Linked DNA regions of Homo sapiens: all the other regions are linked to region 1. The links are contacts of gene promoters, found by promoter capture Hi-C in blood cells and fetal thymus (Javierre and others, 2016). All regions are on one chromosome and are shown on one strand. Each heading gives the region's core, a stretch centred on a gene start or on the middle of the fragment in contact. The rest is flanking DNA. Distances are from core to core; before and after follow the strand shown. Region 1 holds the start of ADRB1 (adrenoceptor beta 1). Region 2 overlaps PLEKHS1 (pleckstrin homology domain containing S1). Region 3 has its middle 15 kb from the start of PLEKHS1. Region 4 holds the start of LOC124902505 (a long non-coding RNA gene).

Region 1 (3,684 bases), core at 576-3,075:
TTGCCTCGGATGATTCAGACGAGGATTGTGGGCTTCGAGTTCACCTGCTATCGGTCTTAAGTAAACACAGATCTCCTCGTTCCCCTGGGAAGCCGTGCCCGGAGTCCGCGCCCCGCGCCGGGCCCTACACCTTGGATTCCGAGGCGAAGCCGGGGCGGCACGGCTCGTCCAGGCTCGAGTCGCTGTCCGCCGCCGCCCCGCCGTTGCAGCCGGCCCAGGGCTCCAGCAGGCGCGCGGGCGGCGTGGCCCCGACGACATCGTCGTCGTCGTCGTCCGAGGCGGCCCCGGGCGATGGCGGGGGTCCGGGCCGGGCCAGACAGCCCGAGGCGCGCGGCCGGTCTCCGTGGGTCGCGTGGCGCCGGCGGGCAGCCCTGCGCGCGCAGCAGAGCAGTCCCTGGAAGGCCTTGCGGAAGTCGGGGCTGCGGCAGTAGATGATGGGGTTGAAGGCCGAGTTGGCGTAGCCCAGCCAGTTGAAGAAGACGAAGAGGCGGTCGGGCACCAGCTCGCGGTGGAAGGCCTTCACCACGTTGGCCAGGAAGAAGGGCAGCCAGCAGAGCGTGAAGACGCCCATGATGATGCCCAGCGTCTTGAGCGCCTTCTGCTCGCGCAGGGCCACGAGGCGCGAGGGCCGCCGCTTACCCGCACGCCCGTTGGCCAGCGGGGCGGTGGCGGCGGCGGCGGCGGGGCGCGGGGGTCCGGGCGGCGGCGCGGGCGCGGGGACGGGCGAGGGCGAGGGCGAGGGCGGCCGCGCTGGGCCGCCGAGGAAACGGCGCTCGCAGCTGTCGATCTTCTTCACCTGCTTCTGGGCCTCGCGGAACACCCGCAGGTACACGAAGGCCATGATGCACAGGGGCACGTAGAAGGAGACTACGGACGAGGCGATGGCGTAGGCCCGGTTGGTGACGAAGTCGCAGCACTTGGGGTCGTTGTAGCAGCGGCGCGCCTCGTCGCTCTCCGCCCGCCACCAGTGCATGAGGATGGGCAGGAAGGACACCAGGGCCGAGATGGCCCACACGGTGCACACGAGGCCCCGCGCCCGCGCGCGCGTCAGCAGGCTCTGGTAGCGGAAGGGCGAGGTGATGGCGAGGTAGCGGTCCAGGGCAATGACACACAGGGTCTCGATGCTGGCCGTCACGCACAGCACGTCCACTGAGGTCCACAGCTCGCAGAAGAAGGAGCCGTACTCCCAGCGGCCCCACACCACGATGGTGGCCCCGAACGGCACCACCAGCAGCCCCATGACCAGGTCGGCGCTGGCCAGGGACATGATGAAGAGGTTGGTGAGCGTCTGCAGCCGCGGCGTCTTGGCGATGGCCACGATCACCAGCACATTGCCCGCCACGATGAGCAGCACGATGAGCGCCATCAGCAGACCCATGCCCGCTGTCCACTGCTGAGACAGCGGCTCGGGGCTTTCGCTGGCGGGAGGCAGCAACGAGGCGGGCGGCGACGCGGGCACCAGCAGCCGCGCCGCGGTGGCCGCGCCGTCGGGGAGCGGTGCGGCCGACGACAGGTTACCGGGCTCGGAGGCGCCCAGGACGAGCACCCCCGCGCCCATGCCGAGCTGCGGAGGCCGGGGGCGGGGGGTGTGGCAGGGCTGGGCCGTGGTTGGGGAACACCCCAGAAGCCCGGGCGGCGTGGTGCGCAGAGGGAGGTCGCGGCCGGGTCAGGGCAGCCGCGGCGCGGGGCCGGAGGCATGGGCGCCGGGCGCCTTTCCCGCAGGAGCCGAGCGCTGTCGCTGCCGCTGCCGCCGCCGCCGCCGCCGCCGCTGCTGCTGGAGCCGCTGCCGCTGCTGGAAGAGCCGCCGGGACTTCAGCATGTTTCTGAGCGCGCCGGGCCCGCAGCTCCGGCACCCAGCACCCACCCCACCCCGCTCCCACTCCCCAAGCCAACCCCCGGGGCCTCGCGTCAGGCTCCTGCAGCCAATCCGGGCAAAGGCACGCCCCCGTCTGGTCTGCACCCCCACCTCCAACTCCCCGCACCCCCCTCCCGTTGGCAATTGAGCGGCTCCTGAGAGTCCCGAGCTGATCGCGTAGCTAGTGCCTCCCGTGCGCCCGCGGGTTCCTGCGGACGCACCCCTTCCTGCGCCCGCTGGTTCCTGGTCCCTGTTCCCCCGCGCCCCCTTCCGCGCCTGGCTCCCCCCGGGGCCCCGTCCCCTCCCTCAGCCCCCACTCGCTCCCGCACCCACTCCTGCGCCCCGTTTGCCTCCCGCACCCGCTCCTGCGCCCCGTTTGCCTCCCGCACCCGCTCCTGCGCCCCGTTTGCCTCCAGCACTCGGCTCCCTCCTGCGCCCCCGCTCCCCCCGCATCCCCTCGACCTGCAGTTCCGGGGTTCTCTGCGGAACAGAGCGCTAGCTCCCTTGAGCGGGGAGGGGACCTTGGTGTTCAGGAAGCGCCAGAGCGCCTGGGACAGCTTGTCCGCCAGGCTTGGAGGAGTTTGCCCTGCGAGCTTGGTTGTGATGTGGGGCAGCCTAGCAGGGTGTGTGTAAAACCCTTCCCCCGTCAAGACGGGACCCAGCCAGCATGCGTCGTGACAGCTTGGGGGATTGGAGGTGGGTGTTAGTGGTTAGAAGAAACTTCCCAGCAGAGCGGGTTGCTGGAGCCAAGCGCGCATCTGTCAAGAATGCTCTCTGGGCGCTGTTCTTGCAAGGATCCTCTGTTGAACCTCGAGTGCAGTAGATGTGGAAAGGAAGCGAAGGTTTGTGCATCTAACAGCTAACGCTGAGGGCCCTTTGGAATCGTACACACTCCTCAGTCCTAGCTAATGAACGTGTGAGCATGATGCAAAAATGTATGCTCATGATATGAAAGGAGAGGCTTAGGGAGACAGAAACGTTGAGATACAGAGTAAACGATACCACCGCGAGGGGGAAAAAACGCGTTTAATTACATTTTAGACTTTTCAATGATAACACCTGTATTTTGTGTTTTATTACTCATGTGATTTTATAATTTGAGCTGGGTCAATACAAACAAAAAGGTACTGTCAGTTTATGCTGACGTAATGAACTGCGATTTCAGATTCCTTGGTCTGCGTGCTTGTTTTCTCCTTTGCCCAAGTTCCCAGATTCTCAAAACTCTGAGATTAGTTTTGAAGGGATGAGACAAGAAAACATATAAATACTCCAGAGGATTAAAATCCAAAAGCATTTAAAGTTGTATCTGTGGTTTTTTTTTTTTTTTTTTTTGAGTTGGCAAATGAATTGCTTTGAAATTAGTGAGTTGTTAACCTGGCAAAAAGGATTATACTGGGGGTGAGGGGACAAGAAAGCCATGAATATGCAATATGGCAGGACTGCAAGCCCCTTCTCTAATTTGGCTCCTGTAGTGTCCTCAGCTCAGGCCTGAAATAAAAAAAAAAATAAAAAAATTAAAAAAATCTCTAATTGAGTCCTTGAGGAGTAAACAGCTTCTAATTGTTTATGTAAGGGTGCATGAAAATGTTATATAATGCTCACAGGTCCTTCTAGCATTGGAATAAGAACAGCGCCCGTAACGAACATCATGTTCGTTGATGGTCATCAATATGACCAAGCTCATATCCTTACCTTGCAAGGAGAGACCGACTTCCACAGCTGTCCAGGTCAAAAGCAAAAAGTAATGTTTTTCAAGTTTATATAAAATCAAGCAGTTTTAACCACTTTCTCTTACATAAATGCAAACATATGAATTTGCTTTAGGCCCA
Region 2 (3,610 bases), core at 485-2,984, 270 kb after region 1:
TTCACACACTTCTATTGTTTCCACAGCAATGGAATTTGGTTGTGTTGATCATATGATAGTATGAATTATGGGTTTCCAGGTGATCTAGATTCAACCACTATTGCCTCCCCTTCCCCATAGATACAGAATATTCTACTAAAGTAGCTTCTTTGCATGGCAGAAAAATTCCAAGAACAATGCCTCAGAGCAGGGGGTTTGGAAAAGACCCTGAATGTTCTCTAGAAAAAAAGTCAAGTTTTAAAATACAGGTGTGTTTAAGTTCTGTCCATGTTTTAAGTTCCAAGCTCATGGAGCCGGATCATGCTGAGTTGGGGGTAAAGGCAGCCCACTTAATTTAACCAACAACAACACCACCCAGCAAGGCAAACAGTACTGTTAACTCGAGCTGGTTTAAAAATCACTGGATCTATAGTGTGAAAAGGCAAAGTGACCAATAATGTTATCTCTAGGGGGAGGGAGATATCATGAGTGAAAAGCAAGAGGCACTTACAGACAAGGGTGAAGCTTCCTAACTGCTGCATACCACCGTTTCTACTCGCTAAATGAAGAACTGAGGTGAGGTGTTTGGCATGGTGAATTTGATATGCTACAAAAAGCTTTCAAAATAGTTGGAGAGCTACCAACTAGATAAAACAAGGGACTAGGACTCATTAGATGTGCTTGGTATACATGGACAGGGTAAAGTCAATGGATAAGTCTCTAAGAGACAAAATAGTATCCGTGCCAGAGAACAAAACCACTCAGCATGTTTATGACTAATATCCCAAGTTGGGAACATTGCAAATCCAAGAAAGCTGAAGGTCCAATTACAAGTCGCTTTCAAGAGGCAGGTACATTATATTTTATGTCTTCAAATGGATTTCATTAGAAATGAGGAAGAAGTGATAGACAGCTATAATGAATGAGAAGCGAGATTGATCAGGGTAAAGGGAAGAGATTAACAAGAAACTCAGCCTTTGCCTGAGGAGTACAGACAGAATGGGCAGAAATCAGGTAGTGTCTGGGAAATCTTTTGGCAGAGGGATCTGTGCCCTCTGTGTGAAAGAAAGGAAGCAAGTTGCCAGCTAGGTTTTGGTTTAGCAAAGGGGTCTTACCCTAGCATACCCAAAGCATATCAAGAGCATCTAAAATGAATGAATACACTGAGAGGTATTCAGGGCAAGCCCTCAGTGAGGCTCATCTGTGGTATGGGATAAACATCAGGGCTAAGAATCTTTCTTATAGTGCATCGGGCTTTGAGGAAGGTGGGCATGGTTAAATTCAATTGCTAATTGGTAAGATTTTTAGGCATTAGCTGCCTCCCAGGTGTGGTGTCCTGAGAAAGAAGTGAGCCCCATTACCTTGTCTTGGAGACCATTTCTTGGTGAGCTGGAGCCAACAGCCTCTGATGTGCTGGAAGGGCCAAGGAGAGGGCTGGAGTAGAAGAGGGTTCTTTTATTACCCAATGAGAGTTCCTCCTGCTCACAAAAAAAGGAATCAGTCAGGGCACAGTTGATCTCTGTCTGGAATGAAACGGCAGCCTCTCTACCGGGCTCCTTGCCTCCTGTCTTTTCCCATAGCAATCTAACATTCATGCCGCTGGCCTGCCAGCATTATTTCACCAAGACAAGAGCCGAACTTGTCTCTCTCCTGTTTCCAAACCCTTGAGGACATTTAGCCTGACCCTCAGAGATGACCAGCGTTTCCCTCAACTTGTCTCCTCAACTGTGTCTCTTTCTGACACCCTCCACCCCAGTTCCCTTTGCTCTAATCACTTCAGTCTACTTGAAGACATGCCTTGATTTCTCCTTCTCTTTGGCTTTTGCTGTAAGCATGGAACAACCTAGAAAACATGTCAAAAAAAGATACCTAGGGACCAAAGTTCCATCTATAAAGGTCTGCCCTGAGAAAGGAACATTAGCAGAGGCCCTTTTGAAATAAGTTTAAAACTTAAAACTGCTAAGCATGTACATGAAAGATACATTATATTAAAAATGCAAGATACATGTAAAACATTTTTATAGAAACTGCCCTAGACTTAGTCATTCAAAAGGGAGCTTGTCATGCACCTTGAATAACAATGATGGAAAATACTATATTCTAGCTACTACTTAAAAATGTCACAGTTAACTTTTCTTCCCTCTAACACAATAATAAAAATCTGAAGTGTCTGTACTTTAGCTCTCTCACAAAACACAAAAGAATTTTTTTCTGTTAATCATAAAAAGTAATAAGGATGTACATTTTCTCATTTATTTATTCCTTGTATTAAAGCCAGTTACTAAGGAGGCAAAGGAAAGCTACCATTGTTTTCTATTGAAAGAGGGTTGTGTTCAGGTGCCCTGTTATTTTATTAGTGATATGGAGTCACCTCTGTGTTCTGCTGTGTTGCTTTTATATCCTGGCGAAATGATGACATGAAGGAGACCCAGTCTTTAATCTTCTCCCTGTTGACAGGAATAAACTTTCAGTTGGCATGTGGCAACAATAGTGCCTTTTGAACCAGAGAAGGATTCTTTTATGAATGTTAGAATGGTGGTGAGAGCAGGTACCAGCGAAATAAGAATTTTTCCTAAGTAGCTTAAATGGCCTCGCCACCTCCACATTTGCACACTAGAATTAATGCTCAGCCACCTCTGCAAGGAAAGCTCAGAGAAAGGGAAGAAAAGTAGAAAATAATAGTAGTAATCACAGGGTTTGGGGCTTTCGGCTTTGACATTGATTTCCTTTGTGTTCTCAAGCAAGCCCCCTAACCTGTCAGTGTCATTTTTGTGTAACTATGCAGGTGGGCCTTCCCTTAGGGAGTGCATGTGTTGATGAAGAATGTGCTTGAGTGAATTTGTATAATCACATCTTTTCTATGGACTCACAGGACAACTTAAAAGGAAGCTTTGGTCAATCTGAAACAGATCAGGGTTTTTCATATGTTGGCTTTGGCATTGTCCGCCTCCTCTGCACAGTCTCTCCCACACCCGCTTTGCCTCTCCCTCAAGCAGATAATCATCCATGAAGAGTCCACTAGGCACCTTTGCTAGGACCAGAAGCCCCTCTTAAAAACTGCAGACTACTTTGGGGGCAAGCCTAGTTCCTCCCTAATATATGTAGCTTGTGTAGATGTTTTTGTATTGGGTTCTTTTACATGGAATGCTTCTGGGGTGATGGTGACTGTTATCGGTTGAAATGTACCCTCCCCGCAAAAATACAATGAATTTGTATGTTTCAGTTCCGTATCCCAATACTTCAGAATGTGACCTTATTTGGAAAGAGGGTTGTTGCAGATGTAATTGGTCAAGATGAGGTCATACTGGAATAGAGAGGGCTCCAAATCCAATATTACTGATGTTCTTATAAAAAGGGGAAATTTGGACACAGAGCTATGCACACAGGGAGAACGCCATGTGAAGACTGGAGTTATGTTGCCTCAAGCCAAGGGAACTACCAATAGTTAGGAGAGGCCCCTGGAACAAATCTTTCCTTGGAGTCTTCAGAGAGAGCATGGCTCTACCCATACCTTAATTTCGGACTCCTAGCCCCTGGAACAGTGAGACAATAAATTTCTGTTGTTCAAAGTTATCCAGGATGAGGTTCTTTGTTATAGCAGCCCTAGGAAACTAGCTCAGTAACTTTTCAA
Region 3 (3,879 bases), core at 1,167-3,666, 310 kb after region 1:
TTATAACCAGTCTCATAAAGGGTGTAGATATCCCTTAGGACTCTCCTTATACTCTAAAGTTTCTAAACTGTTCAACTCACCCTTTTGGGACTATTCTACCACTGGTGATAAGATTGGCTGCAAATGGGAATCTCCTGGAAAGGTTTAACAACACTGCTTCCCGGGTGCCAGCCTGAGAGATCCTGATTTAGTTGGTCTGGGGTGCTGCCTGGGCATTGAGATTGGAAACCTCTCCAGGTGACTCTAAGGTGTTGCTAGTGTTGACAGTCATCACATCTAGTCCCTCTCATTAGAGTCTTTAGAACTCCTCTTAAGAATCAACTCCACTAGTTGGACATGGTGACTCATGCCTGTAATCTCAGCACTTTGGGAGGCCAAGGCAGGTGGATCGCCTGAGGTCAGGAGTTCGAGACCAGCCTGACCAACATGGTGAAATCCCGTCTCTACTAAAACTACAAAAATTAGCCGGGCATGGTGGCCCATGCCTGTAATCCCAGCTACTCGGGAGGCTGAGGCAGGAGAATCGTTTGAATCCGGAAGGTGGAGGTTGCAGTGAGCCAAAATCACTCCATTGCACTCCAGCCTGGGCTACAGAGCTGGGCTACTTTATCTAAAACAAAAACAAAAACAAAAACAAAACAAAACAAAACAAAAAAACAAAAACTAAACTCCATAGACTCCTTGAAATTTTCCATACTTCCTAAATTCACAAAGACTTGCCTTTTGCTTGATGACTCAGTTTTCATAAGAACACCCACCAAAGGAAATGTCTCCTTACTTGATTTTAGATTTTTTTGGGAGTTTGCAAAGCCATTTTTGTGTGTTATTTCCCTGGCTCCTCCCAACATCACTGTGAGGTGGGCATTCAGGGTTAAGATGAGGCAATGGAGCTAGAGCAATGGTCTACAGAGTTAGGCTAGGGCTGCCAAACTTAGGAAAACAAAGAAATACAACAAAAAATAACCCTAGCCAGGCATGGTGGTGCACGCCTGTAATCTCAGCTAGTTGGGCAGGCTGAGGCAGGAGAATCGTTTGAACCCGGGAGGTGGAGGTTGCAGTGAGCCGAGATTGTGCCACAGCGCTTCAGCCTGGGCAGCAGAGCTAGACTGCCTCAAAACAAAAAACAACAAAAAACCCACCCACACCGGACACCCATTTAAATTGAAATTTTAGATAACAAATAAGTTTTTAGTATATTTTGTGCAATATTTTGGGATATATATATTAAAAAATGGTTGTTCTAGCTGAAATTCCAATTTAACTGGGCATCTTCTATTTCATATGGCAACTCTACATATGAAATGTGTCCTCTTCTAAAGCTCAGGCCAGCGTCTTATGCCCTTCTCTTTCCTGCCTATGATCTCCAGCAGCTTGACTACATCCGCTTTTGGAAGACGTTCTTCCTCTCCACTGCATGGGTAGCCGTTATCCTCAGAAAGAACCTCTTCTGTATGTCAGCATCATTTGCATGTCCTTTTTTCTTTTCTTCATCCTAATCTCCTTTCTGTGGCCTCAATTATTGATAAGATCAAGCTGGTTTAAAAAACACAACCCAACATTTACTTGACTTTTGCTTGATGTCTTAGTTTTCATAACAACATCCAACAAAGGAAATGTCTCCTTATTTGATTTTAGATTTTTGGGGAGTTTTGCAAAGCCATTTCTGTGTGTTATTTCCCTGGCTCCACCTAACATCCCTGTGAGGTGGGCACAAGACCTGTGGAGGTAGGTATTATTTCCTAGGTACTCACATAGGACTAATTCTATTTGAGGATGAAAGAAGAAAGGTTTGGAGAGATTAAGAGACTCCTCAAGGTCATATAGCTTGGAAGTGCCGAAGTTGGGATTTGAACCTGGGGCTATCTGACACCAGGGCCTTTTTTTTCTTAATTAGCATGCTAGGAAAACAAGAAGATGGTATTGAGGACCTTGTGGCTTAGCCATTCAAGTTTTCCAGACTTGCTCAATTTGGCTTTCTGCAACTCCTGGGGTTTGGAACAATCATTGGATAAACCTTTTCCATTCCATGTGGGTGGCTAGAGAGATAAAAAGTGTTGACAATATAGCAACCCATAAGATGCATGCATATTCTTGGAAACCTTATTTTTAACCCTGAAAAAAAAAGTGTCACCACAAGGCTCTTGAAGAAAGATTTCAGCAGTCATTGCCAGCAAAGTCAACACTAAGTCAACCCAGGGACTTGCTCTTTAAACACATTTGCTGAGGCTAAGGGGCAAATAGTTTATACGATTCTGGGTAGCTGGCCACAAATATGTGTCAAAGAGGCTTTTTTCCAAGTGTTCAGTATCTTTTTTGGTATAAGCTTCTCCTGTGCTTTAGCCCTCTGTAAATATTTGTGCAATTAATGTATGCTGGCAAATGTCTCAAGAGGAAAGCAGGCTACATTATGCCAAGCAAAATTGTAATTAGTAACACAAAAGAAAAAGAATTTGTCTCTTTCATCTCAGTGCTTAAAAACTGTCAGCACTTAAGGCAGCTGGAAGCTTCAGAAAAGATAATTTGCAAAAGCTGATTTTCCTAAGCGGTTGAGAATGGGTCCTATATCCTAATATATTTTTAAAAACCACATTCACTTGAGAATTCTGTGTTCCCTTCCCTACTTAACATTAATCTAGTTAATTACAAAAGGTGCTGTAGAGAAAAGTTCCTTTAAAAATGTCAACCTCAAAATGTTGTTAAGGGGAGCATTTTGCATTGTGGCACCTATGAGGCACTGGAGGAGAGGGAATACATGAGTGGCCCATCTTGTCTAGAAATGATTGCCTAAGTGATGCAATCGAGAGGAAGAGAAAGACGTGTGCCTGCTGACACCAGCTGGAGAAGTCAGTGCACCTGGACCCATTCAGTGAAAGCTGTCTGCTGATCCACCCCTCCCTCACACTTCACAGTCTTCCTCAAACCTGCCTGGCCAACAAGGGCTTGGCATTCCTGTGCAGCCTCTGGAAGTTTCTGGACAAGAATGCTCCAGTACTGAACTCATTTATGCCCTGAATCCTTTGCTATTCAATCTGGGGATAGGATGGCTAGCCAGGTCTTTGAACAGCCAATGCGCTGCTGGCCCCTGGGTGATCTTTTCCAGCTGTTTAATTTGGGCTTTGCTGCCACTCCTGCAGATCTGCAAGGGAGTCTTTTGGTATCAGAATAATCCATGTTGTCTGAGGACCACCTGCCTCAGAATATCTAGGCAGGTTGGTTAAACATGCAGATTCCTGGTCTCCACCCTAGACCTATTGATTTGCAATGAGGATGCAGTGGGACATAGTGATTTCCTTCCTAAACCGATCTTCCAGGAATTCTCAGGCCATCTTCTACCTGCTAACCTTAATTTCCTCTCCACCACCTTCCCTTCAGCCTTTTTTGGAGGCTGGAATGGAAGATGATGAAAACAGTTCCTTTGGAACCTCTCTTGGAATCCCCAGGCAGGATGCACCCCCTCTGTATTCCTGGGTAATGTACACATGACTGTGTTACAGCCACTAAGCCCTAGAGTGATTTGTTCACCTCCTTTGGTATAAGCATCCTTTCTTGGTCATCTTTCTAGCCCCATCCCTAATATGACATCTGGCATCTAGTAGGACTCTGAATGTTTGCTAAATAAAGCAGTCGCTGATCTAATCCCTTCACTTCTGGGAGACCTCAGGTTGAAAGCATAGACTGAAAAGCATGACTAAGGAAGAGACCTGGAGGCAGAAAGAGCAAGTGAGGCATCCAGGGGGGCATCTTCCGTTCTTGCCCCTCCATGAGCCTCATGTCATCGTCATCATCATCATTCATCACCATCATCTTTGATATCTACTACTTGTCGATTACTTTGTAACTGAGCAGCTTAGTTTCAAACTGTTTTAAGAACTTTTTTCC
Region 4 (4,134 bases), core at 174-2,673, 330 kb after region 1:
TAATACTACCTGGAAACATTTTTGGAGTAATAAGTTTTCTTCCCTCATTTCCCCTGACTCTCCCATTTCCAGTGTTGAACCTTCATAGCACACTTCAATTACAAGAGCTATCTGGCAGACATAAGCTTATTCAATTAGTCACTCGCTCCCATAATAACCAGGTTGGATCATAAAGGGAGGGTTCTTTAATCAAAATCACACAGTACAGTAAACAAGAATGAGGAACCTCTTTATGTTCTGATGTGGGACAATCTCCAATAAGTCGTGTTAAGTGCAGAACAAAACCAAATTGCAGAACAATGGCAGCAGTGTGCTACCTTTTGGAAAAAAAAAAGAAGAAAAGAAAATATGTTTAGATTTGCTCGTATCTGCATAAAGAGACACTTGAAGGATGGTGCAGTAGATAAATCCATGGATTCAGGGGCTGGGCTGTGTGGATTTGACTCCCTATTCTACTGCATAGCTGTGTGACTGTGGGCAAATTACTTAACCTCTCTGTGCTTGTGCTTCCTCATTTGTTAAAAGGACAAAATAACAGCATTTGCTCAGAGCCTGTAAACAAGTTAATCTTCACAAAGCATTTAGAACAGTGTGTGTCCTGTTGTAAGTGGTAAATAAACATCATGATTATTACTGTTATTGATACAGGAGATAGAAATTATTTAGGCAGATAGTAAGGGTATAAGAGTCCTCCACAGAATTTCCCTTTTAACAAAAAGCAGGCCCCAAATAATTTCTTTTTTTTTAACAAAGAGCAGTCTGAAAAATCAAGCTGCAGACATAGATAAGCAAGCTGGAAGCTTGCACGGGTGAACACCGGCAGCTATGCCAGTAGAAAAGGGCTACGTAAGGGCCAGGTATGTTTAACATGGAGGCTCCACTCTTCCCTTTTCTTTGCCACCACATGTACAGTAAGGAAACAGGTAACATGGCGCTGGCCAGGTGGAGAACCAGCTGCATAATAAAAGATGAGTGTGGGGTGGCCAGCTTTTTCATGCCCTACGCAAATGACACACCTAGCCCTAAACAGTTTTTGGTGCCCTATGCAAATGACACACCTGGTTCAACCAATCTTTTGCATCCTATGTAAATCAGCCACTGCCTCCTCAAGCTCATCTATGAAACGCCTTGCATTCCACTGCGGAACCAGCAATCCATTTCTCTTGGACCCCTCTCTCTGCAGTAGAGAGAGCTCTTCTCTTTCTTTTGCTTATTAAACTTCCACTCTGAACCTCAGTATTTGTGTGTCTGTGTCTTAGTTTTCCGTGGCCGTGAGACAATGAATCTTGGGTATTTACTCCCGACACTGACGCCGGTTCATTATTATGTCTATCTTTCAGCGTGGTTATCTGTGTTACAGGGAGCTGGGAGCAGACAGTAGGCAAGAGTGGAAGAACTCTGTGTAACTTTTTATTATATGCAAATAAGTTATTTAAAACACTAAACTAATAATTGCCATTTAACAGTTAAAAGTCTCTTGCTTGCTACAAACGGATTTCAAGATCTGGCTTATTTTGAAGATCACTGGATTCATACTTTTTTGTGCTAATTGAGGGGGCTCCCTAGACACCCCGTTTTTCTATTTTTCACTGTGACTTTATCCCTCTGCCTAGCCTTTTAAACTTCTTACTCCACTGTGTCAGCAATAACAACAATAATAAATACAGTTATAATAAACATCATTTTTTGATCATTTACCACTTTACATATATTATCTCATTTAATCTTCAAGAGTTCTGTGAGGTATTAGTTCCATTTCACAGAGAGGGATGAAATCAGCTTGTCCAAAATTACAAAGCTAGAGAGGAATAGAGCCTGGATTCATTCCAAGGTGTAACCCCAAGTCTCCTATTCCAGAGTTTCTCAACTTTGTTAAAATTCGGAATCCTATGCTTTGCTCTAGACCTACAGAATGAGTCTCAGGTCAGGTGTGGGCGTTCTCCTGGGATGATCTCCAATAAGTAGTGTTAAGCACAGAACAAAAGCAACATGCTGATCAATGGCAGCAGCAGAGGGTCTGAGCATCTCGGACCCTCTGAAGCTTGAGGGTCACGATGACAAGCCTGTCCGCCCACTGCATAGGCCCTCTTGGCTCTGACCTTTCATTGCTGTCTCTGATCTTGTTTCAAGCCCCTCGCCTACTTCCAGAGCCCGTGGAAGTGGAGAAGTTGATGGAAGATGTTGGCCCCACATTCCTGCGTGGTGCCGATTCACACTCCTGTGTGGGGCGGAGAACACCAGCTCGCTCTACGGTATCAAACACCTCTCCAGCTGTGCACAGCCTTTTGGCTCCTTGGCTCTTGGCCAGGAGATGGAACCTGACATACCTCAGGAAGCACGGCCTCTGGAAGGTGCCCCTCTGCAGCAGTGAGGGTATGTTTAGGGCCACGGGGGCAATTTACAACTCTCCTTGGAACCTGCAAGGTCTCCCAGCAATGACAGCTGAGCTGAACATTAAACTGAAATTCCTTTAATGCCACCACCAAAATCCTTCCAGGAAATGCCCCAGCAGGCAGTGTCATCCTTAGAGTCTCCTTCCTTTGTAACAAACTGTGTAGAGTCCCCAGGGCAGCCTAGGTGTGAGCAGTAATTCACTCTCAGCACAGTCAGAGGAGACATGCTTTGTGATCTCAGTCCCAGCAGCGAATAAAAGAGTTACTGTCTGCTTGGAAATCAGCTGCTGGAGTCGAGCAGATCATCAGCTAAACAACTGCTATTGGACAGAAGAAAGGGCCTCAAGGGCTCCCAGGAGATTGTGCTAATTAATTAGCCAATGGCACAAAGAAGGCAACAGTCCATAGCTCAGTCCAGCAGGTTCTCCCAGGGGTGGGAGCTGGGGAGGGAAAAAGAAGGAAAATAAAATGCTTTCAAAGGTCCAGATTAGAAACTTCTTCAGCTGGCAATCATCCCCAAAGACATGATTTTCTAAAAGTGGCTGTTGTTGTTTCTCCAGGTTCCTAGGACCTCACTGCAGAAGATGCTGAAGCATGTGAGAACTGCTGTACCCCGCCAAACGGAGGGGCAGGAGGAAAAGGCCACTGAGATTCTTTCAAGTCCAGATCAACGGGTATGAGTCTTTCTTCCGAAGCTGATGAACGACACAAACGGTGGAGGAACCACTTCAGATATTTTTTAAGTCACCATGAAGAAGTATGAATATTTTTATAGGCTTATGCTTTACAAATTGAATTAACAATCATTATCCCACTGATTCTGCAAAGTACAGATGAGAGGCAAAGAAAGACAAGGCAAATAAAACTGGCCAGGGTAGTTTTTCCTCCAGAGTTTGTCGCTTCCCATTCTATCCATCCTCCTCTTTTTCCTCTCTTTGCTAACTGCTGATGCAACTACCTTTACTTTGGCCCCGTTTATATTCGGAAGACTTTTACTAAGATTACTTTGCGAAGAAACATAGGATTCTTGTTTTGGAACCTGCCATTAAGTGCAAAGTCCAAGATAAACCAGAGCAGTGAATTGAAAGTTCTAAATCCGCTTAAAAGCTTCTGTGTTCCACAATTCACTGCAGATTTAAAAAAAGAAACCTGGCTACTAAATCACTATGCTTAGAGCCAGACAAGCAAGATCACAACACACTACAATATCTTGGTAGAATGACTTATTAAGTGCACTTAAGTGTACACTAAAATGCAAAGGAAAGTTAACACAGCAGGTTGAACCCAGTGCTTCCTAACCATCCCATCTCTTTCTTCATGTTGAGCTTCTTCGCCAGTATGGGCAAGTACCACTATCTTCATTTCCAGATGTGTTCAGATAAGCATAAATCTCTGCTAGGAACACAAATAATGCCAGCATCAACTATCAGGAAGGAACCAGAGTGTCCTAACTTCTTAGGTAGAGAGCCATTTCCTGCAACTTCTAATTTCACAGTGTGAGGTCAACTCAGTCATTTTCACTACAACAGTCAAGAGTCAAAAAATTATAACCAAGCTCTCATGATTATTTAGATAAAAAGACATCCTTGAAGAGCCTACAGCAACTTGTATCAGAAAACGTTATAGGATAAAAATATTCTGCCTACTTTACAAAGAAGTGAAAAACCTTAGAAAGAGTACAATGGATTTTTACAATCCACTCCGGGTGCAAGTGTAATTTTCCCCATCACTGGAGTGGATA

The links. Contacts are between HindIII fragments. The CHiCAGO score rates a contact against its expected background, and 5 or more counts as called.
Region 2: a fragment that was not itself captured here is called in contact with the fragment with the promoter of ADRB1 in region 1 in 1 of 17 cell types (erythroblasts); the score reaches 5.3 in erythroblasts.
Region 3: a fragment that was not itself captured here is called in contact with the fragment with the promoter of ADRB1 in region 1 in 1 of 17 cell types (total CD8 T cells); the score reaches 5.7 in total CD8 T cells.
Region 4: a fragment that was not itself captured here is called in contact with the fragment with the promoter of ADRB1 in region 1 in 2 of 17 cell types (megakaryocytes and erythroblasts); the score reaches 5.7 in megakaryocytes.

What each region holds. Positions count from the first base shown.
Region 1 is chr10:114,042,007-114,045,690 of GRCh38, reverse strand. ADRB1 (adrenoceptor beta 1) reads right to left here and starts at 1,825. Exons shown (of 1, transcript NM_000684.3): 1 at 1-1,825. The coding sequence starts at 1,558. The coding sequence ends at 125. RefSeq lists silencers at 1,728-1,787, 1,858-2,137 and an enhancer at 2,408-2,457. The HindIII fragment of the contact is 8,909 bases long and covers 1-3,684 here.
Region 2 is chr10:113,767,631-113,771,240 of GRCh38, reverse strand. PLEKHS1 (pleckstrin homology domain containing S1) reads right to left here. Exons shown (of 13, transcript NM_001395068.1): 6 at 2,351-2,426; 7 at 1,341-1,457. Among named protein-coding and RNA genes, the nearest start is that of MIR4483, 8.6 kb to the left of the region's middle. The HindIII fragment of the contact is 2,272 bases long and covers 599-2,870 here.
Region 3 is chr10:113,735,058-113,738,936 of GRCh38, reverse strand. No RefSeq gene overlaps it. Among named protein-coding and RNA genes, the nearest start is that of PLEKHS1, 15 kb to the left of the region's middle. The HindIII fragment of the contact is 181 bases long and covers 2,326-2,506 here.
Region 4 is chr10:113,709,829-113,713,962 of GRCh38, reverse strand. All of the region lies in intron 2 of CASP7 (caspase 7), which reads right to left. It overlaps LOC124902505 (a long non-coding RNA gene), which reads left to right and starts at 2,114. Exons shown (of 2, transcript XR_007062294.1): 1 at 2,114-2,373; 2 at 2,954-3,282. The HindIII fragment of the contact is 1,241 bases long and covers 803-2,043 here.